Regions from separate parts of the Homo sapiens genome. Here regions 2, 3 and 4 are each linked to region 1. The links are contacts of gene promoters, found by promoter capture Hi-C in blood cells and fetal thymus (Javierre and others, 2016). All regions are on one chromosome and are shown on one strand. The core of a region is centred on a gene start or on the middle of the fragment in contact, and the rest is flanking DNA. Distances in the headings are between cores, read along the strand shown.

Region 1 (6,618 bases), core at 2,004-4,503:
CACAGTTGCCCTCCAAGGGAGGTGGTATCATCTTCCCACTTTAGAGGGAGGGGAACTTGCTCAGGGAGACTGAATAACTTGTCCAATATCACAGAGCAGTAAATGGCCATCTTGGGATTTAAGCCTAGGTCTGAGTGACTCACAAAGCCCAAGAGTTAAGCAAGGGGCTGTACGGAAGCCCTGGCATGCATGTCCCTGGCTTTGCCATATACAGGCATGCTGGGACTGCAGCTAAGGGCATCTGTGGGGCCACTGGAAGCCACAGTGCTGATCCCTGGCCCACCCTCCCCTGGGAGACCAGACTGACCCTGGGTCATTGGTTGGCTAAAGCCTGGGGCCTCAAGTTTGGTATGTGGGGCTCGCTCACTGCCAACGGGTTCTCCTTGAGGATCCCTTTCTTCCTTTCATCTGCTCAGGCCTAACACCCCATACACTGTGTGCGGATAGGGAGGTGACCCCTTTAGCGTCTCAGCAGCACACTCCTGCCTGGACCACCCTCTCCCAGGAAGGTCAGACCCCAGCGGAACCTTTGCCCTGCTTGGGTGGAAGCATGAACAACTAGTACAGCTCAGCAAGGGACTCCCAGTATTGCTGGCCCTTGGGTGTCCCTGGCATTGGGTAGATGACCCCTCATGCCAGGGACTGGCCTCAAGGCTGTTCCTCTCTACTCCAGAGCCTCTGGGCAGTGGGTTGTGGATTTCCTAAGAGCTGACCATTGCTGCGTCAGAGGCTTGCAGCACTGGGTTACTCAACAAGGCCCTGCAGCCTGGTTTGCTATGAAGGAGAAGATGGGGTCTCTCGTCCCTAGCCCCAGTGCACTTAAATGTGCTAGTCCCAGAGGTTGGGAGTCCTGAGTCAGCCTGTGAGGACAGGGCAAGGACAGTAACTGCCTCGGGTCCTGGGAATGTCTGTGGGGAAGAAGAGGCTCTGCTACCCTTGAGATCTGCTGGGTCCTGGTCCCTAAGTGTACCTCTCCACCCATCTCACCCTGAGTCAGGCCCAGGAAAGGGGTATCTTTGGTGTTTCCTGGGCTTCTGAACACCACATTCATCACTACCATTCTCCTCAGTGCTGGCCCAACCCCAAGAGCTGGAGAACAGGCTGGCCCCGGCCACTCTATCTCACTTTCCCTGGCATAAAGGCTTTGACCTTGGGCAACATACCCAGGGCAACCCAGCACCTCGGCAGGCTGGTGATCAATCTTCTCAACTTACAGATCCTGCTGACCATGCCTGCAACCAGGCCTCCCATCTGCTATCTCCCTCAGTGCACACTGTCCTAGGGAGTTGGGTGAATATCTATTATAGTGTGTCCATGTCACAGTTCAGAATCCTGAGGTCCCAGAGCAATTCAAATGCTTCTGGCTCCTTTCAGTGGAAAGCTGCAGCCAGCCTAAATCATCTCCCTGTGCTGGGCCCAGGAAGAGATGACCCTTTAGTATACCATGTTGTTTGAGTAGCCAAGACCTCTGGGAGTAAAGGCCCCTGGCCATATAAGCAATATAGGGGAAGGCGTCCTGAGCTCCTCTTGGGGCCTCTCTGCTACTGGGTGCTCTGCAAGCTGGGTCCCTGTGCCCTGGATCTCTAGAAATGTTTCTCAAATTGGGGCTGCTGAACAGAGGGCAGCCCAGCCAAGTGAGGGCAGGAAGTGGGCAAGAAAGCAGGAAGGGTCTCACAGGGCCACCAGGGAGGGCAGTGCAGGGCAGGTGGCCCATGACAGGTGGGATGCTGGCTTGCCTGCCTGCCACCATCCTCTGTTCCTTCTGGAAGCCATGCCCTGCCATGAGCCATGGCCTTGGTGCTGAGACTGTCCATTCCACCTCCCATTCTCCTCCTCCCTCTGACTGTCACCTTGAGAAGCATCCACCCTGGGGCTTAGGGCAGCTGTGTCTGTGACATGTGGAGCCCTCCTCCTCCTCAGAGGCCCAGGCCAGCCTCCAAGTGCTGAGATAGCCAGCTGCCTGTGGGCACCCAGGTTGCTAAGGTATCTTCCAGGTTCAGCCTCCTCCTCTCCCTCTTATCCTATCACCCTCTCCTTCTATTCCATCCTGCCCACTGGGTCCCTGTGCCAAGCCCTCCACCTCCCTCCTGCCTCCCTCCGAGTCCCTGCATGACTCATACTTTCCCTGGGCCCTCCCTATAAAGTTTGGTTCCACAGGCTCTTTGAAGAGATCCAGCCTCTTCAGCTCTGGGCAGGCAAGAACTAGGCAACCAGGCCATGGGTACCAGGGCCTCTGCCCCCAGCCCGGGAGCCCCTGTGTTGGGGCCAGGATACTATCTGAACATGCTGACAGTCTGGACTTTGGAAGGGGAAAATGGTGCTTCCCTGTGTGGGCTTCTGTGTTTGAGCTGAGGAAACTGAGGCCAGAGAGATGCCGTAATTTATCCAGGGACCCAGAAGGGGCTCATAGCTGAGCTGAAGAGTGTCCCACATCCTCCCCAGTACTCCACACTGGTCCCTGAGTGGCAGCCTTGCTAGGATGGCAGGAATCAGCTGACCACTTATTCCTGGGCCATCAGACCCTTAGAATAGGGACCAGGTGGGCAGTGCTGCCTCTGTGTCTGAAAGTGGACCCACCGTGACCAGTGCCCAGTGCCCACCAAGGCTCAGCCAGGGGTTTCACCAGGGCATGGGGCACTGGCTGAGCATACCACGCCCTCTGTGTCCTCTGCAACACTAGAGCCCTGAGACTAGAGGGGCAGAAAGATGCCAGCTGTCAAAAGCCAGTGATATCCACCAGAACACACTGACCGCCCCCACCCTGTGCCTCTCCTTCTTTGCAGAAGCTACCTGTGCCCTGGGTTCTCTGGGCAGGGAAGGGCTGGACAGGCAGCCCTCAGGGGACAGCCCTGCCTGCCACTTGGGCAGCTGTCAGAGCATGCAGATGTGCCCGATGCCTAGCTGGGGCACTTGGCACAGTTGCCACTGCACCCTGCCTAGGGGTCCCAGCAGCCTCTGGGCGGTGGGTGGAGTGGGGTGCACGGTCACACAGGCTGAGAGGGCCCCCAGGACGCCCCCATCCCACAGTTCCCACTCCAGTCTGCTGTCTTCTCCCAGCTTTTTCCCAGCGCCCCGCCTCCCCCGACCTTACCTAGGGACGCAGCCAGGAAGAGAGCGAAGAGCAGGGATCCCCAGCGCCAGCTGCCGGCCTCCAGGGCCGTGGGGACGCCCATGTCGCCGTCGGACGCGCAGAGGAACTTCTGGTGCCGGGGAGCGGGCGGGACGCGGCCGGCGCGGGGAAGCCTCCCGCGACTGAGTGCGAGCGAGTGAGCGCTGCGGGCGGCCCCAGCGCCGTGCTCCAGGCACCCGCCCCCTTCGCGCAGCGCCCCCGGGGGGCCGTGTGGGGGAACTGCCTCTCCGAGGGCCGCGTGGGAGGGGCTTCCCGGAGGCCGGCCCCGTGGGTGGGGAGCCAGCGTGCGTCCCAGCGAGTCAGCTCCACTTGATCGGCAGTTTAAAGCCCGTTCTACCGTCCCCCAGTCCTTTTGGAGAGAAATTATTATTGCTGCGCAGCCTAAGAAGTAGATCTACCTCTAACAGCGTGATAGACGTTACCATGGCTTGCATCTGCCCTCAGCCACCAGCCTTTGAGTGATCTGGGGACAGAGACTTGTACCCTACATCCTCCAGCCAGACCAGGGCTTGGTATGTGGTAGGCACTCCCAGCTGTGGAATGAGTGAGTAAATGAGTGAATGAATGAAATCTGACATTGTGAAGAGCTAGGCAAGCTGGAGCCAGTTTAACTGTAGATTCAGAGCCTGAGGCACCCTGAGTGCATGCGCGCGCGCACACACACACACACACACACACACACACACACACACAGAACAGGTGCAGGACTACACGCCAAGATCAGCACATCCCTACCCCGGGACACACACAGATATGCAGGCAACACCTGTTGGCGTGCCCCACAGCACATCCTGCAAGCTCCCCTCCGGCAGAGGCCTCAGCTGTCCGCCTGGCTGTGCACCCGCCCTCCCTCCCTGGTGCCTGGATATCTGCAGGACACTCTGATGCACCCTAACTTCTAGTGCCTCTGCTCTTGCACCCACACCCAGCACTGCTGGCACCACTGGAATGTCTCTCCCCTCCTAATTCTTCTCATCCCTCAGGGCTCAGCTCAAGTCCTCCCACTTCACGAAATGTCCTGACCCTTCCTTTTTCCCGGCAAATCCTTACTGTCCACACCCCCTTCAGCTACCACCTCCAGCCTGAGATAACCAGCAGTTGGTTCTTCTTCCGGCTGTTCTGCCCTCCAGAGCGAAACTACAAACCTCTCTCTGATGTTTCTGAGACCCTAGCACAAAGCTGGGCGTGGAGAAGGTTTTACTGCACTTTTATCTGAATGGACAAACCAATGAGTGAGTGAGTGATTGTGTGATGGAGGAGCAGAGGTGATCGTGGCCAGGACCAGGGATCACAGGAGTGGAAGAGCACAGCCATTTTACTCAGTTTACCCCAGTCTAGCTGAAGCTTCCAGGGGTTTTTCTGGCACTTTAGGGATCTTGGGTTAATAGGTGACTCCTAGGCTGAGAGGCAGAGGACACTCAGAGTCTGACTGGGTCAGGAACCAGGGTATCAGGACTCAATGGGAGCCAGGAGTCCTGGGGGCCTTGTGGGTGGCCTGATCCAAGTCACGGGCTCTCTGGAGGCCCTTAGCCCTTGCTCTAAGGGCAGGGAAGGCTACAACAGAGGAAGGCTGAGGCATCATGTTATTACTAAGTGAACTTGTGCAGGCCCAGTCCCCCTGGAGCCAGTGAACTCCCCAGGATGGGAGCCCCAGAGGCTGGCAGGACATAACCCAGGTCCTTGGGCATGCTCCTGGCCTTGTGACCCCACCTTGGAAGGCAGCCCAGGGCCCTTCCTGCTGGCATAGCATGAGCTCCCTTCCACCAGGGGAGGTACAAAGCCAACTGAGATCAGGTGGACACCGGGCCCTTCTCACCCTGACATCCTCTGGCAAGTGAGGGGGGTCCCTTAAGGGCAAGATCCTAGAGCACCACCCCATCTCAACCCTTCCTGGACTGGCTTTGCTCAGGACACCCTTGAAACCAGACTCCCTCTTCCCCAGGGCCTAGCAGCCGGGGAGGGCCTGGAATTAGAGAAAGGGGAGCAATTGCCCTGCCAACCCCTTCCCCAGGGGGATAGAGCCTCTGAGCTGGGCCCAGTTCCCTCCCCCCTTTTCACTTCCTTTCTCCCTACCACACTGCCCACCACTGAGCCTCCTGGGGTTGCATCAGGGTGAGACACAGGCATTGCCCAAGGACCATGGTCCAGAAACCTCAAGCACTGTTTCCTCAACACCAGGGCAGGACAGGAAGGGCTCAGCTGAGAGGGCCTTTGGAGCACTGACTTTCTCCTCCCTCCGAGACCAGAGGAAGTCAAACCCACCTTCCCTCCCCAAGCCCAGACCTGGTCTCAGAGCAGGAGGGGCTCCAAGGCCCAACTCTGTTCAAACTCTCCACTCCCAGCCCCTGCAGCCTGCACACTCCATCATGTGTTTGTGCTTGTTTTCATTAAAAATAGTGGTGAAGGCCCCAAATATTCGAATAAAGATGACTGTCAAGGAAAGCCACCATGTCCATCTTGTGGCTCTGCAGGGCCTGGAGGCAGCTGTGAGTACTCTCTACTGGTGAGGGGCCCAGCCTTGAGCCTTCCTGAGTCCCCTTACTTGCCGGCAAGAATACAAGAGCACCACATTGCAGGAAAGGGGCTGAATTCCAGCCTCCCTGTTGGGGAGGGGATGCTGACATTTCCCACATTCCCAAACTCACCTCCCAAACTCCCTGAGCTAGAAACAACTTTAGAAATCAAGCCAGGTCCTTTATTAAACAGACAGAAAAGGTCCAGAGAGGGGATGTGACCTGCCCAAGGCCACGCAGCTCCTTTTCAAGGCTGCCAACCCTATCTGCTTTGGAAACCGTTTCAGCAAACACCCAATGCCCTCCACCCCCAAGATCCAGAGCTGCATATCAGAGGAATCATTGCCTCCTCAGGGGCAGTGACAGCCTTCTTGGGTCCAGATCCCCTGCCCATCTGTCCATTCTTCCAGTGGTAGCTCCAGAGCCAGCCAGTCCCAAGGAAAAAACCATATGCAAATTGCCTACATTGAGTTGTCTGTACCACCTGCTTTCTGTTCTCTGGCCTGGCAATGGCCTAGTCACGTTCTCTCTACCCAGACACCTTTGCAGTGATTAACACCTTATTATTTTATATTAGTCACTCATTATGATTTGTATTAGTTAGGGTCCTGGCAGGAAACAGATGGCACACTCAGAAAGGGTTCAACTGAAGAGAGTTTAATACAGGGACTGTTTAGGAAGGCTGGTAAAGCACCCAGAGACTAGCACCAACCACAGGAAGCCACTACCACTCACATGTCCAAAGGGAAAGAAGAGGAAGTGATGTTCTGGAGCCCAGTGAAAGCTGGTGCTATGAAAGGGGGACCCCTGTCCCCAAGCAGGAGAAACACAGCCATGGGCAGAACCGCAGTGAGGAATGGAGGGAGTGTGGAAGAAACACCCCCGCCTCTTTCTCCCCACTGCTTTCATCTTCAGCCAGGGCCTCCCATTGGCCACACCCAGCAGGAAGCTGGATAGCAAGGGAGCCAGGGTAAG
Region 2 (6,030 bases), core at 1,240-3,739, 420 kb before region 1:
CCCCACAAGCAGGCCCTGAAACAAGGATTCAAATGCGAGTAGTTTATCTGGGAGGTGAAGGTGGGAGAGTATGGAATGGGGACAGGAAAGGGAAGGCAGTCAGCAGAGGATGCCTTATCAAGTCAGCTCCTTCAGGAGGGACAAGAACACAGTCCTGCTGGGGATCTTGGAGAGCCAGTGTGGAGCATGGCTGAGCAGGAGGGAGCTGGGGTATTTATGTACCAACTTCCCTAGTCATTGGTTGAAGGCTGCTCTTAGGAGGTGTTCCTTACCTGTCACTCCCAGGTAAGTAACACCACTCCTGGAGTTGTAAAAGGGAGGGCACATGGGCAGGACACCAGCAGCATTGCTGTAGCTTCTGACCATATCATTCCCAGCTTGAAACCCTGATGTACCTCTTTGCGTTAGTGGGTACTTTGAGTACCCACAATAAAAGGATGTCCTCTTTAAGTGAAAATTAAAGGCAGGTCCACCTTTAGGCATCTTTGGATCTAGGGGATCTCCTCTGCACCACCCCTGGGCTCCGTGTGTCTCTGCATGGCTTTTCCTCCATGTCTAGCCTCGCCCTACGCAACTGGCTAGATGGCAGCCAGCAGCCCCAGACACAGTCTCGGCAGTGAGCTTCTCTCCACGGCTCCCATGTAGCAGTCCCAGGGAAGACTTAAAGATCCTATGTGGGTCACATGCTAATTCCTAACTCAACCCCAGGGTCTAGGAGCAGGCAACACTGACTGCCCCAGGCTGCGTCACATGCCTGTTGTTTGTGGCTGTGTGGGTGTGGGTGTGGGCAACCTGGCTGACCACCTCCCCAGGATGACTAGGCGAAGGAATGTTCTCCCAGGGAACATTGTGCTGGCAGACAAAGGCCCCACACCCCGCCCTCCTCCAGGACATGAGTCCACGCCTCTCCCCAGCATCACCTCTGTGCTCCTCTGCTCGCATCTTGACTACAGCCAGAGTCCATTTGCAGCTCCCTGAACATGCCTCACTCTCTCTCCCAAGACACATGCACTTATATCCTCCCATTCGTCGTTACCATCCAGCATAGACATTGCCTCCAAATGGCCTTCCACGATGCCCAGGGTGGGTTTTGTGCCCCTCAGATGTGCTGTGTGATGCCCTGGGGCCTCCTGATGGAGCACCTACCACAGTGAGATGACATATCTGTTGCTGGTCTGTCCCGTGTCCTGGGCATCCAGCATAGTACTGGACACACAGTAGTTGCTCAATGCACATTTGCGGAATGACCACACCATTGAGTACACATGTTAACAGACTGAGTGATGGGCTGGGGCTCAGCACACCTGGGTTCTCATCCCAGCTCCCTACAGACTCACTCCACAACCTTGAACTGTCCCTTCATTTCTTGGGCTTCCTCATACCCCTTAGAAAGCAGTGACAGCACCTGCTCTCCCTTTAGCTGAGGACCAGAGGGAAACTCAAATTAGCCTGGGGCCACAAAAGCACTTTGAAAAAATTCCTTTCTTGCTTTTCTTGCTCATCATTTCACACCTACGTGTGTGTGTGTGTGTGTGTGTGTGTGTGTGTGTGTATTTTTCCTACCTTTCAAGTTTTTCTTTTTTTAATTAAAAAAAAGTATGTAATCTGGCTTTTCTCCCAGCCCCCTCCCACTGGTTAGCAGGAAAATTAACTACACATCCAATCCGGTTTAAAGCTTAGTCTAATCTGATGATTTAAGCAGCCCCTTGAGATGATGTTCTTGCTTCCTAGAATAAAAATGTGCAGCTTCTCAGATAGAATCCTTCCCTGCTTTTCTCCCCAGGCCAGTATGGGGGCTGGGAAGAGTACATGGCTCATATGCAGGCATGGTGCTGGGGAGTGTGGGGGTTCCCTTGGCCCCAGGCAGCACTAACTTGGCATCACCTGCTCCCCATGATGACTGAGGCCATCACAGGAGGATGCCCCTGCCCTGGCCACCACTTCTGTGCCATCCATATTTCCTCACTCCAGGGGAGGCAGTAGAGCATCATTCTGAGAACTGACCAGAGCCAGGCCTCCTGGGTTCATTGCTGAGTGACTTTGAGCTAGTTCCTCAGCCTCTCTGATGTCAGCTTCCTTATCTGTATACATGGGATAGGTACGAATACCTGTCTTACAGAACCGGTGTAACAATCAAACACACTGGCATACAGAAAATGCCTAGAAGAGTGCTAGAAAAGTATGCATTAAACACTGTTTGAGTGTTTGCTATGGCGACGATGATGATGAAGATGACGACGATGATTTTCTTTCCTTCTTCCCTTTGCCCCCAAACCTCCTGCTAAGTTTTGGGGAAAGGAAGCTCAGTGGGTGGCTGCTCTGTTTAAACACTAGACAAAGCCAGCAGGAGCTCAGCCCTGTGGCAGGAAGAGCAGGGGTTTGCCTTGAACATCCTGGTGTCCTCGTGTCCTTGAACCTCACAGCAAGGTGAAAAGCAGCAGAACCCACTGAGCGCTGGCCCTGAGCCAGGCACTGCCGCTTGCACCCCACACTGCTCACCTCTTCAGCCTCACCCCCCTGTGAGTTGAATCAACTCTCCCCATTGTACAAGTTCAAAAGCTGAAACCAGAGCAACTGAGTCCCTTACCCAAGGCCACACAGCTAGGGAGCCGGGAAGGCAGGATTCGAGTGCAGGCCTCTTGACTGCAGAGTGAACAGTCCTAACTGCTAAGCTCGCCTGCTTCCCTTAAGGTGGCTCACCAGCCCCAGCCCACACAGGAGCCCCGAAGGGGTGTCTAACTGCTTCTGGCATCCTCGCCCCAGGGTTGCAGTCCACATCCGTGTCCTGGCCTCACTGACGGTCATCCTGGCCATCTTCATGGTGATAACTGCACTGGTGAAGGTGGACACTTCCTCCTGGACCCGTGGCTTTTTTGCGGTCACCATTGTCTGCATGGTGATCCTCAGCGGTGCCTCCACTGTCTTCAGCAGCAGCATCTACGGCATGACCGGCTCCTTTCCTATGAGGAACTCCCAGGCACTGATATCAGGTGAGAGCCAGGGTCCGGGCAGCTGACCAGGTTCATCCACCCAGGAGTCATGGGAGGGAGCCAGAGATGAGCATGTGGTGGCCTTTTCTGAAAAGGAAATGGCATGGGTGCTGATTGTGTTTCAGTCATCTAGTGTTGTAGAACAACAACGGTCATTTCTACTACTCACAAATTTGCAGCTTGGACAGGAGTTTGCAGGTGTAGCTCTTCTCTTCTCCCCATGGCATCAGCCAGCATAGCTCGACGGGGAGCGGAGGATCCAGTTCCAGGTGGCACGCCCTCCTGGCTGGCGTGTTGATAGTGGCTGCTGGCTGGAAGCTTAGCCAGGGCTGGGCTGGGGCCAGGGACTTCCGTTCCTCTCTATGTGGACCTCAAATGGCAACTTTGACTTCCTCATGGCATGGTGTCTGGGTTGCAAAAGCCGGCATTTCAGGAGATCCAGGCAGAAGCTTTATTTCTGATTTAGCAAAAGAAGCCACATAGGGTCAGTTCTGCCATAGCCATAAGCTCACCCAGACTCAAGACAGATGGACCCACCTCTGGGAGAGTATGAAAGTCTCCCACCGTGACTGTGAGAAGGTAGGCAGGAGGGGAGACAGAGTCGCAGCTATTTTTGGATAACATGGTCTGCCTACAAAAGGCAATTCCTGAAACCAGCCTTCCTCCCTTTCCTTCCCTCCTTCTCCTATTCCTCTCCTATTTTTCCTTTTCCTTATCTTTCTTCCCCTTCTTGTCTCCTTTCCTTCCTTCTGTCTTTTCTTCCTTTCTGATTTTATAGAGGACCTGCTATGTCCTGGGGATGCAAAGATGAACAAGCACCAGTCCCCTCGGAGCTGATGGCTCAGTGAATAAACTCTCACCCCCAGCACCCCCAAGCTTTGGTATCCCGTGGGTATGCCTGTGCACGACGTGGGCCGACCCCTCTAGCTGATGTTTGATGCTGATGTTGATGAGCCTGTTCCGGAGGCCTTGGCACTTTTGTTCTCTAAGCTGGAGACACACACATCTCTCACCCAGATGACCCAGCCAGGTAAAAAGGAGCGGGTCAGGAACCATTGGTGCTTTGCCAGGAGGCCACAGTCCCTGGGAGCAAGACTGGAGGTTCTGCTGCTGTGTCTGCCCTTCCACATGCCCCTGTTATGCAGAGGAGAGCTCTAAACATTTGCCCACTGACAGCAATTTCACAAGGAACCTGTGCTGTGCCCCTTAGTTAATAATGCCAGGAAGCATGTGGCCAGGATGACAATACTTTGACAAGGGTATGTCCCTTCCCCACTCGAGCCAGTGCCAGACATCACTGGTGGATCTCTATCTTTCATCCTGAGCTTCTAAATCCTTCTCAGCGCAGCACTTGAGGCAGTTACTCTCAGCAGATCAGAGTCTAGATGTGAGCTTCAATCTGTTTGCCATTTCTGAGATCAGATTAGGCTTCTGGCTGTATCCTGGGAAACACTTGGGCCTAAGATAAAATAAAAATGGACTTGTTGCTAAGTTTCCTGGGTGCAGGCAACATGCATCAGCGATGCTTTCAAACGGGCATTTCTGGACTGAAGGCAGTGGCCACTGGACATGGGATTTAATTCCTTCTGTCACCGCCATCTCAGAAGGAGGCTCTTATCCCCTTAGTTCCTTCCATCCTTGCTGGCAGGCTCTCCAGGAGCCAGTGACCAAACTCACCATTTACATTGGCAAGCGGTCCTCGGGTTAATCTGTCCACCTGTGATCTTCTAGGGATGGGGAGTCTCCTATGGATTTTTCAGAAAGTCCGTTCAGAAAAGTGGGGAAGTTTAGTACTTCTACGCCAGTATTAATGACCCTGAGTCTAAACCGTGGTCACCACTGTATTGGGCCCTCGTGGGTGCCCAACACCCTGGAAAATCAAGGTGTCCCAGTCTTCCAGAGGCCACAAGACCACCTCGCCAGCCCCACTTGCTTTTTTCCAGCACAGCCCGTCTGTGAATTCCGCACGCGTTGGCATCTGAGGAACAATTCATTTGTTTTGCGCTGGTGTTTTTTTAAACCCCTCATTTGCATGTATTTCCATAACTGATGAGATAAAAGTGGAGAGTCATGAAGGATGAGCTCCCGGAGGCCTGGTTTGTTGTTGATGATAATATTGTAAATTCTCTACAAGTTGGAAAGAGAGAGAGGAAAATCAGTAGGCAGTGATGTTAAGATCTCCTCCTTGGGGCAGCTGGGGAGTGTCTTACTGAGTTTAACCCCAGTTCTTGCAAAATGTCTAGGCGGGGATTACAGCTTCTCAGAAGTGGGCATCCTCTTGGCAAAGGGTTTACCCGTTGTTGCTGCTTTGATGTGGGAAGCACAGAAATAGCCAAGCACCTAACTGGGAATCAGAAAGGATTTGTTTGGTATTTGGCACTTCTCCGCACCAGGCAGGCTTCTGAGTGCTTCACGTGTAATAATCCTTTTAATCTTCATCACAGCCCTACGAGGTGGGTATTATTAACACCCCCATTGTATAGATGAGGATACAGAGGCACAGTGAGGTTAAGGGACTTGCTGAAGGTCACACAACTAGAAGAAGTAGAGCCAGGTTTGGACTCGGATGTTTTGATTCTGGAGTCTGAGTTCCTAATTACAGTGCTAATTTTTATACCTTTGCCCTCCCTCAAGTACTACCCAGGCTAATAGAACTTATGGTGGAGAGGCTGGGGAAAGGATCCTCCGTCAGACCAAGGGCTATTCTCTGTAGAGCCATAGAGGCCACAGGCAGAGCATGGGGAGCCGTGATGGTGCGCACGGTGGACGGGGCCTGACTGTCCCCCTTCCCCTCTGCTTCGTGCAATAGTGGGCAGGAAAGTGGTGCTGTGTAAGAGCTGCCTGATGGAGACAGAGCAGGCCATGCCCACACGGACCCAGCCTTCTTCCCACCTCTTCAGGAATGGACATTCTGATCCTCTGAAGTGGGCAGGTTCATCCCGCCAGTCAACCCAGCTCATCCATCAGGCCCTTCCCGCATTGATGGTGATGGTGTTGGCCTTGTTGTCAGTGCTTTTCCACTCATCGTCCTGTTTCCACC
Region 3 (6,429 bases), core at 508-3,007, 440 kb before region 1:
ACGCATGATGAAGAAGAGGGAGCATAGCTCAGCGAGGTCCATGAGCAGGCCAGAGGGCTCAGGTGCACAGAGAAGGGTTCCAGAAAAAGATGCAGACAGCTCACTCACCTTTAGTAAGAAAGAAGGCAACAAAGGATTAAATAGAATAAAATAAAATTCTGGTCGTGACCCATCAAATGAATTTCATATTCTTTAATGAGCTGTGCAACCTGTAGTTTGAAAAACCCTGCTCTGCCTGTTTCCCCTAACTTTGTAGCCATCTATGAGGATGCGTCATGTCCTCATTCCACAGAGGAGGAAAGTAGAGACAGTAAGTAACTCGTTGGTGCCACATAGCTAATAAGAAGGGGGGTGGCAGCCCAGGGTACCTGAATCAGTATCAGATTTCCTGGGACACTTGCCAAATACCCGGATTCCTAGACCCTTCCCTGATGGCTTTATCTCCCTGGGTGAGGCCTGGGCACTGTTGCCAGGTGGTCCTGTTGCCAGCTGGCCAGGGGAGCAGGTATCTAGGAGTCTCTCCTTTGTGCCAGGTGGTGTTCCTGCAGAACCGTTTTAGTGCTACTCAGATCTCTCTCCAAATGGAAACAATGTTTAGACTCCCTTTGCAATCCTCTTTTATTCTTTTTTTCTTTTTTCTTCTCTTTTCTTTTTCTTTTTTTTCTTTTTTTTTTTTTTGAGACACATTCTTATTGTATCGCCGAGGTTGGAGTGCAGTAGTGCGATCTTGGCTCCTGGGTTCACTCTGCCTCCCGGGTTCAAGTGATTCTGCTGCCTCAGCCTCCTGAGTAGCTGGGATTACAGGCGCCCGCCACCACACCTGGCTAATTTTTGTATTTTTGGTAGAGATGGGGTTTCACCATGTTGGCCAGGTTGGTCTTGAACTCCTGACCTCAAGTGATCCGCCCACCTTGGCCTCTCAAAGTGCTGGGATTACAGGCGTGAACCACTGCACCCTACCAGCAATCCAATGTTTAAGAGCAGAATTCCCAAGAGTGGAGAAGGGCACAACACCCCTCCTCCCCGCATAGAAAGAAGTGTATTAAAGTGGGATTTTGCCTGAGCTTTGTCATCCTAGGAAAAGAGATGGGGAGTCTGAGGTCAGGCAGCATGGGCTTCAGGCTTTCTGCCACTGGGTGTGCATGAGTGGCTGCCAGTTGCTTTGGCTGGCGTGGATGACTGCTCTACACCATTTTTAAAAATTAGAACCAAAAGTGAGTCATTTTTTAAAATCCCCTTGTCCACCCTCTGATTCTAACTGCGGGCCCAGCCAGCGTGCCATTCCCAATAAATAATACACCTGTGATGGCTTTTTCTTCTGTTTTTAGCTCTTGCTGCATCCTGCAGAGGGGAAAAAAGCCTAGTTTGAAACGCTGTCAGTCATGCCTTTGGTGGCCTCAGCTTCTCTAGTTCTCTTCTTATTTTCTCCCTAAGTGCTCACGACCCTTCTTCCCCACCCGCGCTGCGCTCCCTTGCCCTCCAGGCTATTGACTGCTCCCTCTCTGCCTTCGATTTTATTTCTTCCTGCATATATCCTTAAAATCCAGAGGCGATTTCCTGGACAAATTAGAAGATGGCCTGGACCTTAAGTGCTCCAGTGTCTCTTTAACATGATTGATATCACAAGTGTCCAGAGAGCGGAACCTAAATTAGAGTCTCCACCAAGGAGCCCAGCGCTTTTGACACAGGCAGGCAGCCTGGGAAGGGTCTGCAGCACTGGGTGCCTGGGACCTCCTTGCTGGCCTCTTGCCGGTCCTCACTGCCTGGGAGGACTGTGTAACAGCCTTTGCCTGTTTAATGGGTTAATGAGTACTCTAGTGGAGGCAGAGGACAGCTGCTGTTTCTCCCTATGTGCCTGTGTTTCTGTGCACGTCTGTGCCTGTCTGCATGCAGGCACCTGAGGCCTAGAGCAGCCTGTGGTTTCTGCCCACATGCACCTCCAAAGAGAAACAGCCTTCCCAAGGCGGGAGCAGTCTGTTGTTGAGGAAGTGCCTGCCAGGGGTTGGCTAAGGACTCCCTCTTCCTGATGGTCCCTAAGGTTTTCTACTACAGAGAGAGGCTGGAGCACCCCCAGACCACCTCCTCATTACCACCAGGCCACAGGGCATGGCCCTTGTCCCTGGTCATCAGCCTTGTGACACTGATGCACGGGACCCTCTGGGGGATGCAGAAGCCTGCCCGGTCAGGCAAGAGTAGGTGGGGTGTTTTCTTGAAAGGCCTTCTTCCTCTTTTCCCTATCACATGGCAGAAGTCAGGCTGCAGAAGAGGAAAGACTGGCTGGCCCGAGCATCAGCAGTGGCTGAGCCTCTGATCAGCTCATCCTCAGGGAGCTTGGGGTCACTCGTGCATGGATCCGTGAGGTTCCCTGTTTCTCTGACCCCTTGGTTTCTGAGCCCTTACTCTGCCTATTCTGGTTACAGCCTGAGAGTACATGAGGGGAATAAAGGGGATAAGAATCAGAGCAGTCAGCTTGCCCCTTGCTAGGGGACCTTGCGAAGGCTTGGCCGAGGCAGGGTATAAAGGTAGGTAGAAATGAGGTTTCCATCTTCCTTGCTCACCCTGCCTGGCAGAAAGACTCTGGATTCAGGAGAGCTGGCTTCTGTTTCTGACTGTGTTTCAAACTTGCTGGGTGACTTGAGACCATGTCCTCCTTTGAGGAATGAAGATATGAGACCGTAGATTGGGACCCAGAAACTTTTCCCGCAAAGGGCCAGATGGTTCGTATTTTAGGCTTTGTGGGCCCCACAGTCTCTGTTTGCTACTCAGCCCTGCCCTTGCAGAGTGAAAGCTGCCCTTGACAACATGTAAACAAATGGGCTGACCGAAGGCCGACCGCGTTCCAGTGTTCACACAAAGGAAGAGGGCAGATTTGGCCCGGGGGTAACCCGCTGCTAACCTCTGGACTGGGAACACTCACTTACAGCTCTTTCCCAGTTCTGTGATCTATTATAGTGGTACCTACCCTGCTGAATTTGTCTTCATATCACTGACCACTGCCTGGCCTATTATCTATTTGTTTATGCATTTGCTAGCCATCTCTTTGACTAGATGGGCAGTTCCATAAAGGCAGGAACTTGAGCTGAATCTCCCATGTCTACAACATCTAGCGAGCTCAGTAAATATTTGCAGAAGGATGAATCCATCTCTGAGTATTTGTGGAGAGGAGACAGGGACAGGAGGAAGAACCGCCATCGCTGGATTGTGCACCGTGATCCCGCAGTGCACCTCCACCACAGCCTGCACACCCGGACCTGCCTGGGCCCCAGCCTCCCCCCATCCCCATTCATACTCCAGCTCACCCCTGTGGAGGCTTGAGCACATCAAGCTCATTCCCGACTCAGGGCCAACCGTACGCTGTTCCCTCTGTCCAGGCTCTAGGTTAGCCAATTATTTGTATTTTAGTTTTATTGCATTTATCCTAATTTGCAGTCTTTTTTCCCCCCACTTGCTGTTGACTCTTTTTTTTTCTTTTTTTTTTTTTTTGTGCCTCCCTCCCTAGAACACTGGCATTCCCAGCCCCTAGAACACATTGAGCACATACAAGCTGCTTGGCCATCATTTGTTGAATGAGTGAATGAGCTCTAGAAGGTCAACTGCCTTTCACCTTTAGTGAGTGAATAGATGAATGAATAAATTAACCACTGCTACCTGCTTCTTCCCATCTGCTCCCTCCACCCATTTCTGCCAGGTGATTCCTTCTACACCCAGCACTGCCCCCCATACTGTTTGGCGTTGAGAAGCCCCCAGAGCTCCCCAGTACCTTCCAAAACAAAACCCCTCTTTAGGCAGCTGCCTGAGACCACCCGCGAATCGGCCCTCAGCCACCCTTGCCTCCACGCGCCCCATCATTTCTCCAAGTGGAGCCCCCAAGGTTTCCGGCAAAGGAGCCAAGCGAGGGGACAATGCAGCAAGGTGCAGGAGGGGCCTGGAAGCGAGGCTGCAAGGAGGAGGGGCGTGGCAGTCACAGGGAGGCTGATTTATAAGGCGCAGAGGCTGAGGGTGGCCAGGCCCAGGGAGGAACTTGAGCAAAGGCGTGGAGGGGATGCCTGGGGGAGAGGCTAGAACCCGAGGGGAGACTGGGTGGACACGTGAGCCATAGTCAGGTGATGTGGAGACGGGGCCAGTAGATGTGATTGACTGGGGTGAGGGTGAAGGAGAAACCAAGGAAGCTTTGAAGAGGGGCTGAGAAAAGGAGGATGACCATGGGGCCTTCAGAGGGGCTGCTTGGGAGTCTTCTCTTGAAGGCCTTTGATTTGAGGAGCTTGGGGTTTGGGCTCAGCAGGACCCCCAAGCGGTTGTTCTGGATGAAGAGACGGATGTATGGGTAGAGGTCATGAAGCCAGGGGAGGTGAGCTTCTCCTACCACCACCCCCACCCTTACAAAAGGAGGGCAGGAAACGAAGGATGGAGCTCAGGGGGCACCTTGGGATGGTGGAGGGAGCCAGAGGTGGACAGAGATGATGAGGAAGTGTGGAGGTGGGGGCGGGTGTGTCCTTGTGAATCTGGAGGAGAGGAGTGCTGGAAGGACATTGCATTAGTTTCTTGTGGCTGCCTTCACCAAGTACCACAAACTGGGTAGCTGAAAAGCAAGGCTCTAGGGAATAACATTTCCTTGCTGCTGCTTTGGCATTTTTTGGCTCATGGCAGCATCACTGCAGTCTGTGGCTCTGTCTTCACGCAGCCTCTGCCTGTGTGTCTGTGTGTCCTTCCCTCTTTTCCCGTATACTGTGGATTGAGGGGTCATTCCTCCTCCAGTAGGATCTCCTCTTAACTAAGCATGTCTGCAAAGACCCTATGTCCAGATAAGTCACATCCTGAGGTTCTGGGTAGACATGAATTTTGGGGGCATGAATTCAGCCCCCTCTAGACGGGGTAGCATGCAGTGTCTGGATTGTGAGGAACAAGACCAGGCCTTGGTTACAGGTGGGCTGCGAGGAGGACGCTGAGGACCCTTAGAGGAAATGTTTCCCCAGGGCAGCCGGGAGGGACACGGCTTTGGCAGTGGCAACATGGACTACATTTTCAAGGAGTGTGGAGTGAAGGGGAGGAGGGGCCTGGTTCCTGGAGGCAGCAAAGTTAAAGTAGTTTTTTTTTCTTTACCCAAAGGGAGACCTAAGAGAGTCTCTTGGCCAGCAGAGAAAGGAACAAGCAGCAGTGAGGGAAAGAGAAAATGCAGGCAAGAAAGGTGGGATTCATGGTGTGAGTCTCCAGGAAGTCAGCTTAGGCTGGAGGAAGAGCCCTTTTTGCGGAGTGGAAAGGAGGTGTGCTCCAGAAAGCCTTGCACACACTGCAAGGAGGAAGGCGGGGAAGCTCATTCCAGAAGACAGGAACTTTGCTCATCGTCCAGCAGGGATTCCTGAGGAGGTGTGAGAAAGGATTGAAGGCTGGGGAGAGCCCCGGGGTGCTCAGAGAGCAAGATTTACAGTGAGCCCAGGCCTGGAGCTGTCATGAGAGGCCAAAGGAGGGACGGTTGCATGCAAGGGTCAGATGGGGACCCTCTTCCTTAGGGTGGCCACAGTGGCTTCGTCTGTCTGGCCAGCATTTTCCAGAGCTTACCTGTCTGATTCTGACCCCAGATTTGTCCTTCCCTTGGGCCTCTGGCCTCCCCTTCAGCCTGGCTGCATCTAGCCTCCTGCCTGGCCCCTGGAACAGGCATTGCCCCCCTTCCCTGCCCAGCCAGCCCTCCCAGCTGGTCCCTGCCCTTGGCCACACACCCATTATCTTTCCTGAGCCAGTGCTCCAAACACAGGGCCTTGGAACTTGCAGAAAGGTTACCAGCCCCACCCCTTATGGGGACATCTGCCCTCTGCTCACCTCATTTTGCTCAGGAATGATCTGGGCTGATGCCCAGGGCAAGGGCACCTCCCCTGCAATATCCCAGGCCGCAGAACTCAGCTATCCGAAAGCGGCAAGTTTGCAATGGCAAACTATTCTTGGCTCCAACCTGCTCGCTGCTGCTAATTTCATGCCCCTGTGATCCAGGTAACGCTCTGCTGCCTTGAGCTGCCACCCCCAGGCTTGAATCGCTTTTCCTCGCCCGCCCGGTAGGAGCCCAGCTGCCTCTGCTGCTGCTTCCTGGAGGTGGGGGCTGCACAAAGCTGCCTCGCAGAAGCCACTCAGCAGCACGGACACTGAGTCTGCCGCAGCTCGTGACTAATTTGCTGCACTTATTTCAAAGTGCCCAAATGGCATTCAGGGAAGAGAAAGCTTAACCAGGGTCTGCCAGAGATAAACGGGCTCATTTCGGGGCCTCCCTGCCCGAAGAAACCTCTTTACCTGGACTCTGAGCCTGGAATTGAATTCTTCCAGAAGAGACCCTTAGCACGGAGCCTCTCAGTGTGGCGGAGGAGAGGAAATGTGGCCCGTCATAAAATGGGCCTCACATCTGGCCAGCTGGCTCTGGTGGGCTTTTAAATTGTGTTTGAAGAG
Region 4 (6,883 bases), core at 4,093-6,592, 480 kb before region 1:
GGCAAATTATGTAGCCCCAGTGACTCTGAGCCACAGACCCTGTCTCATCAGCAGCAAGCAATGAATTAACACATGGCATGAACATGTTTGTTCTTTTGTTTCTCATGCCACAACTAGGAGGGCAGTAAGGCAGGGACTTCGAGCCCATTTTACCGATAGAGAGGTTCAAGGCTAGCCCGAGGTTGCCAGCCTGTGTAGGCAGGGCTCAGACTGGAACTCAGCACCGGGCCGGTTGGCCCTGGGCCCTGCCCTTTCCAGGGACCCAGGGCCTCCCTGATTGCCCCAGGGCCTGGTCTCTGCTGCCCCTTATGTGGTCCTCCTGTCCCCGCAGTGCTGGAGGCCTCAGGGGATGCGGCGCTGTATGCGGGGCTCGTGGTGGCCATCTTCGTGGTCGTGGCAATCCTCATGGCGGTGGGGGTGGTGGTGTACCGCCGCAACTGCCGTGACTTCGACACAGACATCACTGACTCATCTGCTGCCCTGACTGGTGGTTTCCACCCCGTCAACTTTAAGACGGCAAGGCCCAGTAAGAACCCGAGGATGTCTGGGGTGGTTGGCAGAGGCAGGATACCCAGAGGGCTCTGGTGGTACCCAGACCAGAGCCAGGCTCCTGACTCCCTCCCAGGGTTTTTCCAGAGTTTGCTCTAGAGATAACTATGTGGATGGGTATGGATTAGAGAACTACCGAGAAGGAAGGGAGTGACCCAGGCTGCGGGATTCCCAAAGCTTCCTGCAGCTGGCAGCAATTGGGCCTTTCACAGCTGGACATTTGGGTGGGATTTTGCAGTGGGAGCTGGGCCAGTGAGCTGAGGCACAGCTGGGTCTGACTATAGCCCCTACTCCTGCAGGCAACCCGCAGCTCCTACACCCCTCTGTGCCTCCTGACCTGACAGCCAGCGCCGGCATCTACCGCGGACCCGTGTATGCCCTGCAGGACTCCACCGACAAAATCCCCATGACCAACTCTCCTCTGCTGGACCCCTTACCCAGCCTTAAGGTCAAGGTCTACAGCTCCAGCACCACGGGCTCTGGGCCAGGCCTGGCAGATGGGGCTGACCTGCTGGGGGTCTTGCCGCCTGGCACATACCCTAGCGATTTCGCCCGGGACACCCACTTCCTGCACCTGCGCAGCGCCAGCCTCGGTTCCCAGCAGCTCTTGGGCCTGCCCCGAGACCCAGGGAGCAGCGTCAGCGGCACCTTTGGCTGCCTGGGTGGGAGGCTCAGCATCCCCGGCACAGGTGAGCCCCTGCCCTGCTTGTGCGTCAGCCTGGCCTTAGCACCTCCTCTGTGGACTGCCCCAACACCCATCCAGCAGAAGATAGGGCTGCCCTAATCCCATCTCACAGATGGGGAAAGGGAGGCCTGAAGGCAGGAAGTGAGTATAAAATAGAGAGGTCTGACTAGAAAAGCTAGGCTTCAAGCCTGCCTATGCCCTCACTAGGGCAGAGGAACCTTGGGCCAGCCATCTTCTAAGCTTCAGTGTCTCTGTTGTGTGAGAGAGAATATTCCAACGTAGTTCAGCAGACCTACAAAGCACTGTCCTGGAACTAGCAGCAGAGGGACAGGGGCGCCTGTTTTAGTTTGCAAAGCCAGCAATTAACAGCTTCCCAGCATCATATACTAAGCTAGGAGTAGAGCTGGCACTTGGACCTCCAGACACCATAGCAATGTCAGAGACCCCTGTCTTCCTAGACAAGCCAGCACTGGTCAGTGGCCTGGCCTCTGCTTGCATCCAGTCCCCAGACCCTGTCTCCCACCCCTGGCTGGGGACTACCTGGAGCTCAGGAGATATCTTTCTCTCCCAGCCCCAAGCTGGGGCCAACTTCCCAAACACTTGTTCTCCTAAGCTCCTGGACTCCCTGCTGACTTCCCTCTCCCCCTAGGGGTCAGCTTGCTGGTGCCCAATGGAGCCATTCCCCAGGGCAAGTTCTACGAGATGTATCTACTCATCAACAAGGCAGAAAGTACCCTGTGAGTAGAGCCCCAGCCGCTGCTCCTTTTTCTTCCTCCCATCCCTTGCTGCCTGCCCACACGTGGCTCCCCTTCTAAGCCTGATGCCAAGACCAAACAGTCCTCCAAGGAAAGTATTAATCTTACTGTGTCCATATTGAAAACTTGCAGAACCAACACCGTAAATTGTAAAACTCAAAGGCGGTTGACAAGCTGGCTACAAGTGTGACAAAGGGCTGAATATCCTTACTATGTAAAGAGATTTTGTAGATCAATAAGAAAAAGTAAACATCTCACTGTGAAAATGGGCAAAGGATATGAACACGTGATTCACACACACTGTCTCACACAAACACACTGGCCAGTAGGTTATGAGAAAATGTTTAGTCTAATTTGCAGAGAAAACTAATGAAAACCACCACAAGGTATACTGGGATTTTTAAATTATTATTATTAAGGAATTTGCAAGGACCTTTTCCCAAATGATAATACCCTCTTGCTGGCAAGGGGGTGGGAACATGGCCTTCTGTGGCACGTGGCCGGGAGTATAGATTGGAACCAGCTCCCTGGAGGGCACTTTAGCGTGACCTATTGAAAACCTTCCAAGATTACACAACCTTGGAAAATATAAGCCAGGAATTTTGAGCTATGATAATGTTGCAGTGGAATAGCAAAAATCTGGAAACAACCTCAAGGTTCATGCCATTTTCTTTGCCTCCTTTGCCCCCATGACCTCTGGGAATGCAGAGCCCTGAGTGGCAAAGAGCTGCCCTCCACCTCCCGGGCCCTGGGCAGACTTGGGAGCCCAGCAGGAGCCTGCACCTTTGCCGAGCTCTTCACTGCCTCTCTCCTACCCTGTGTCCTCCTCCAGCCCGCTTTCAGAAGGGACCCAGACAGTATTGAGCCCCTCGGTGACCTGTGGACCCACAGGCCTCCTGCTGTGCCGCCCCGTCATCCTCACCATGCCCCACTGTGCCGAAGTCAGTGCCCGTGACTGGATCTTTCAGCTCAAGACCCAGGCCCACCAGGGCCACTGGGAGGTGAGGAGCCACGGTGAAGGCTGGCCCAGCTCTCCCAACCTGCCCAGGGAGGCAAAAGAAAGCCCTTTTCCTCTGGCCCAGCCTGAATAACTGTGACCACTACCCCACCCTTGCTGTCCCCTACAGGAGGTGGTGACCCTGGATGAGGAGACCCTGAACACACCCTGCTACTGCCAGCTGGAGCCCAGGGCCTGTCACATCCTGCTGGACCAGCTGGGCACCTACGTGTTCACGGGCGAGTCCTATTCCCGCTCAGCAGTCAAGCGGCTCCAGCTGGCCGTCTTCGCCCCCGCCCTCTGCACCTCCCTGGAGTACAGCCTCCGGGTCTACTGCCTGGAGGACACGCCTGTAGCACTGAAGGTAGGGCCAGCTGCAGGTGCCCACACAGCCCTGGCCGGCCAGCTGCATGATCCCTGCCAGAATCCCCCACCCCAGGCTCATGGGTCCTCCCAGGAACCCCTCCCCGCCACCAGCATTATTAGGTCCCGCTTGCGACCCTCACACACTGAAACAGCCTTGGGCACAGGGCCTGCCTCACCAAGATCCAGGTTAGAGGTGGGAGGCAGACCAGGGATCCCTGAAGGCTCTGATGGGGTCTGCCCCAGGACTGAGGGAGCATCAGACTGGGAGGGGCTTGGGCTGGTAGGGAGGGACTCTGAGAAGGCTGACATGTAGGAGTTTCAGCAGAAAGGAGTGAAGGGCATTCCAGACCGACAGAAATGACTGCGTTTCATAAGCGTTTCAGCATGACCAACTAAAAGGCATAGGGAATGTGTGAATGTGAGGGCGGGCGAGATGGGCAGGGCTCAGCTTCCCAGAAGCCTCAGGGCCCCTTGCCAAGGAATTTGGAATCCATCCGGCAGGAAGGGGAATGGACCTGGTAGACACCTGTTCACAGGTGCTCTTTAGAAAGCCCCTGTGGCTATACTTGGGTGGGTAGATGAGAGGTGGAGAGGCCTGTTGGGAAGCTGGGGTTGGACCCTGGGCCACAGGGAGTGACAGCAGCCAGGAGAGGCGGGGCTGGATGCTGCGTGTGCTCAGTCAAATGGACAGAACCGGTGACTGATGGGATGGGCAGTGGGAGAGGGAAGTTAAGGCTGACAGCCAGGCTCCTAGCATATGCAGAAGGATGGAGAGCGGTGCCCCAAGTGAAGGAAGGGTCATGCAGATGAGGGGTGGTTGGGACAGGAGGGAGGGAAGGGGAGGGAAGGGTCTTTTAGTACCTAGAGCCTGATGATGGCAGGTATGGAGCCCCGTGTTAGCACCACTGTCCCCTGCCAGCCTCAGAGCCCTTGTGCATTCCCCCAAGTTCTCCTCCCATTCTCAGGAGCTCAGGCTCATCCTGATGTAACCCTGGAAGCATACAGACACTTGGCCGTGTGTGAGCCCCTTCCCCTCCCTCCTCCCATCTGCCCTCCTCAGCGCCTCATGGTCCTTTCCCATGGCTCCATGCACTTTCTGTTCCTGCTCCCTGGCCCCGTCCAGCTCCTTCATCTCCCAGGCTCATGGGACTTGTCCCAAAGCCCACACTGCAGACAACATAGGTGAAAGGCCCATGGGAGAAGGAGTGTCCCCTGCTGGGAGGACCCTGGCTTGAGATGCCAGTGGCCCTGTGATGGGTGCAAGGTGCCTGGGAAGTGCTCCTGCAGCTGGATCTCTTGGTCCTGGGGCGTTGGCTAATGGCCAGCTTTGGCCAGAGAGTGGTATAGAAATCAAGAGAGAAGTTACCAGGTTTGGGCCTGATGGCATTCTTTGTTTATTCAACCCTCCATCCATCCATCTGTCCATCTGTTCATCCATCCATCTGTCTTTCTGTTCATCTGACCATATACCCATTCAGTCAGCAGCCCATCTGTTTACCCAGTCATTGCTCGTCTATCCATTCATTTATCTTTTCTTCCATCTTTCTATTCATATACCCATCCTTGTATATCCATCTGTATATTCATCTGTCTGTCTTTCTAGCCATCAATCCGTTTATCCATCCATCTGTCCATTTATTAGTCCCTCTAGCCATACGGTCATCTATAGATTCATTCATCTAGTCATCTTTCCCACTGTCTGTCTATCCATCCGTCATCTATTCATCTTCTCACACCATAAGCCCTCTGTGAGCTCTTGCAAATGCCCAGCCATGCACTCAGATGGGCCCCTGCCCCCTGCCCCGCACAGTGCCACAGAAGAGGCCCATTGGCCAGGTGTGATGGGTTCCCCTTCCCCATGCCCCTGGCCCACAGGAGGTGCTGGAGCTGGAGCGGACTCTGGGCGGATACTTGGTGGAGGAGCCGAAACCGCTAATGTTCAAGGACAGTTACCACAACCTGCGCCTCTCCCTCCATGACCTCCCCCATGCCCATTGGAGGAGCAAGCTGCTGGCCAAATACCAGGTGAGGGCTGGGCTGATGGATGGGGAGGGGCACCACTTAAGGGCTGCCCGGGAAGCCCAGCTCCCTCCCGGGCCCTGCCTCCTAGCTCTGTCCTGTGGCCTTACCCCTCCCTGGATCTCTCACTGTCTCTGTCTCCTCCCACCCCAGTCTCTAGGCTTTCAGCCATCCCCAGGCACGTCCCCAAATTCAGGGCAATGGGCAGCCACATGCACACTTCTGCCCTGTCACACCCTCACACGCACAGACGACTATGCCCTTCATCCTCACAGAGGCTCCTCACCCTTCAGGGCATGCCCTCCTGGCAGACTGCCCATCTCATCTCTGACAGCCACAGCCCGCTGCCCACCCAGCAGCGCCTGAGACCACAAGGCCCCCTAGCCCCTGACACACACACACCTGTGCCTTTCCCTCCCCCACCTACCCACCCTCAGCTCCCTTCTGGAACTGAGGGCCTGACACCAACTCAGCTGGCTAGCTTAGGGCACTTGACCCCTCCCTATCTGGGTGGAGAGGCCTGAACTGCCCCCCAAAGCTCCCAACCCTCCCTGAGCCTCCATTTCTATGAGGACAGGGCAGGCTGGCCTTGCCTGCCTGGTCCTGACCCCCTCCTCCTGCAGGAGATCCCCTTCTATCACATTTGGAGTGGCAGCCAGAAGGCCCTCCACTGCACTTTCACCCTGGAGAGGCACAGCTTGGCCTCCACAGAGCTCACCTGCAAGATCTGCGTGCGGCAAGTGGAAGGGGAGGGCCAGATATTCCAGCTGCATACCACTCTGGCAGAGGTGAGGGAAGTCGGGGCCACATATTCCAGCTGCACACCACACTGGCGGAGGTGAGGGAAGGGTGGGGCAGATATTCCAGCTGCACACCACGCTGGCGGAGGTGAGGGAAGGGTGGGGCAGATATTCCAGCTGCACACCACGCTGGCGGAGGTGAGGGAAGGGTGGGGCAGATATTCCAGCTGCACACCACGCTGGCGGAGGTGAGGGAAGGGCGGCCAGATATTCCGGCTGCACACCACTCTGGTGGAGGTGAGGGAAGGGCGGCCAGATATTCCGGCTGCACAGCACTGTGGCATAGGTGAGGGAAGGGCCGCCAGATATTCCAGCTGCACACCACGCTGGTGGAGGTGAGGGCCAGAGGATACCTCTAGGGTTTGGGGCTGGGCTGCAGCACACAGAACCCTGTAGTTCCCTCTCACCTCCCAAGTCTGAGCGGGTATCTGGTCATGTTTTTCTAACAAGTGTCATTTATTGATTGAGTGCCATTCACATGCTTGGCATATACCAAAAAACTTACATGATCTCACAAGCACCGGGAGATGCATGACAGATATCATCCCCACCTGGGAGGTGAGAAAGTAGGTTTTAGGAAGGGCAAGGATTTGCACACAGTACACCAGTGGCAAGACTGGATTCGAACCCAGGTTGATGCAAGGACCAGGCCTGTGGTTCTCAACCGTTAAAAATCCGGATTGAGATTTAAAAACCCAGGCCACCCAGGGTG

What was found. Contacts are between HindIII fragments. The CHiCAGO score rates a contact against its expected background, and 5 or more counts as called.
Region 2: a fragment that was not itself captured here is called in contact with the fragment with the promoter of VSIR in region 1 in 5 of 17 cell types (megakaryocytes, naive B cells, monocytes and 2 more); the score reaches 5.9 in megakaryocytes.
Region 3: a fragment that was not itself captured here is called in contact with the fragment with the promoter of VSIR in region 1 in 4 of 17 cell types (total CD8 T cells, naive CD8 T cells, monocytes and 1 more); the score reaches 6.6 in total CD8 T cells.
Region 4: a fragment that was not itself captured here is called in contact with the fragment with the promoter of VSIR in region 1 in 4 of 17 cell types (M2 macrophages, M0 macrophages, M1 macrophages and 1 more); the score reaches 6.3 in M2 macrophages.

What each region holds. Positions count from the first base shown.
Region 1 is chr10:71,770,267-71,776,884 of GRCh38, forward strand. It overlaps VSIR (V-set immunoregulatory receptor), which reads right to left and starts at 3,254. Exons shown (of 7, transcript NM_022153.2): 1 at 3,092-3,254. The coding sequence starts at 3,173. The region is part of intron 38 of CDH23 (cadherin related 23); the gene reads left to right. RefSeq lists silencers at 3,054-3,133, 3,154-3,483. The HindIII fragment of the contact is 7,388 bases long and covers 1-4,472 here.
Region 2 is chr10:71,348,799-71,354,828 of GRCh38, forward strand. SLC29A3 (solute carrier family 29 member 3) reads left to right here. Exons shown (of 6, transcript NM_018344.6): 4 at 2,764-2,990. Among named protein-coding and RNA genes, the nearest start is that of SLC29A3, 33 kb to the left of the region's middle. RefSeq lists enhancers at 2,155-2,655, 2,656-3,156. The HindIII fragment of the contact is 1,633 bases long and covers 1,674-3,306 here.
Region 3 is chr10:71,331,489-71,337,917 of GRCh38, forward strand. All of the region lies in intron 2 of SLC29A3 (solute carrier family 29 member 3), which reads left to right. Among named protein-coding and RNA genes, the nearest start is that of SLC29A3, 15 kb to the left of the region's middle. The HindIII fragment of the contact is 4,820 bases long and covers 1-4,167 here.
Region 4 is chr10:71,290,584-71,297,466 of GRCh38, forward strand. It overlaps UNC5B (unc-5 netrin receptor B), which reads left to right. Exons shown (of 17, transcript NM_170744.5): 9 at 332-526; 10 at 849-1,238; 11 at 1,884-1,971; 12 at 2,822-2,990; 13 at 3,117-3,350; 14 at 5,228-5,377; 15 at 5,995-6,159. Among named protein-coding and RNA genes, the nearest start is that of SLC29A3, 25 kb to the right of the region's middle. RefSeq lists an enhancer at 4,877-5,684. The HindIII fragment of the contact is 7,740 bases long and covers 1,473-6,883 here.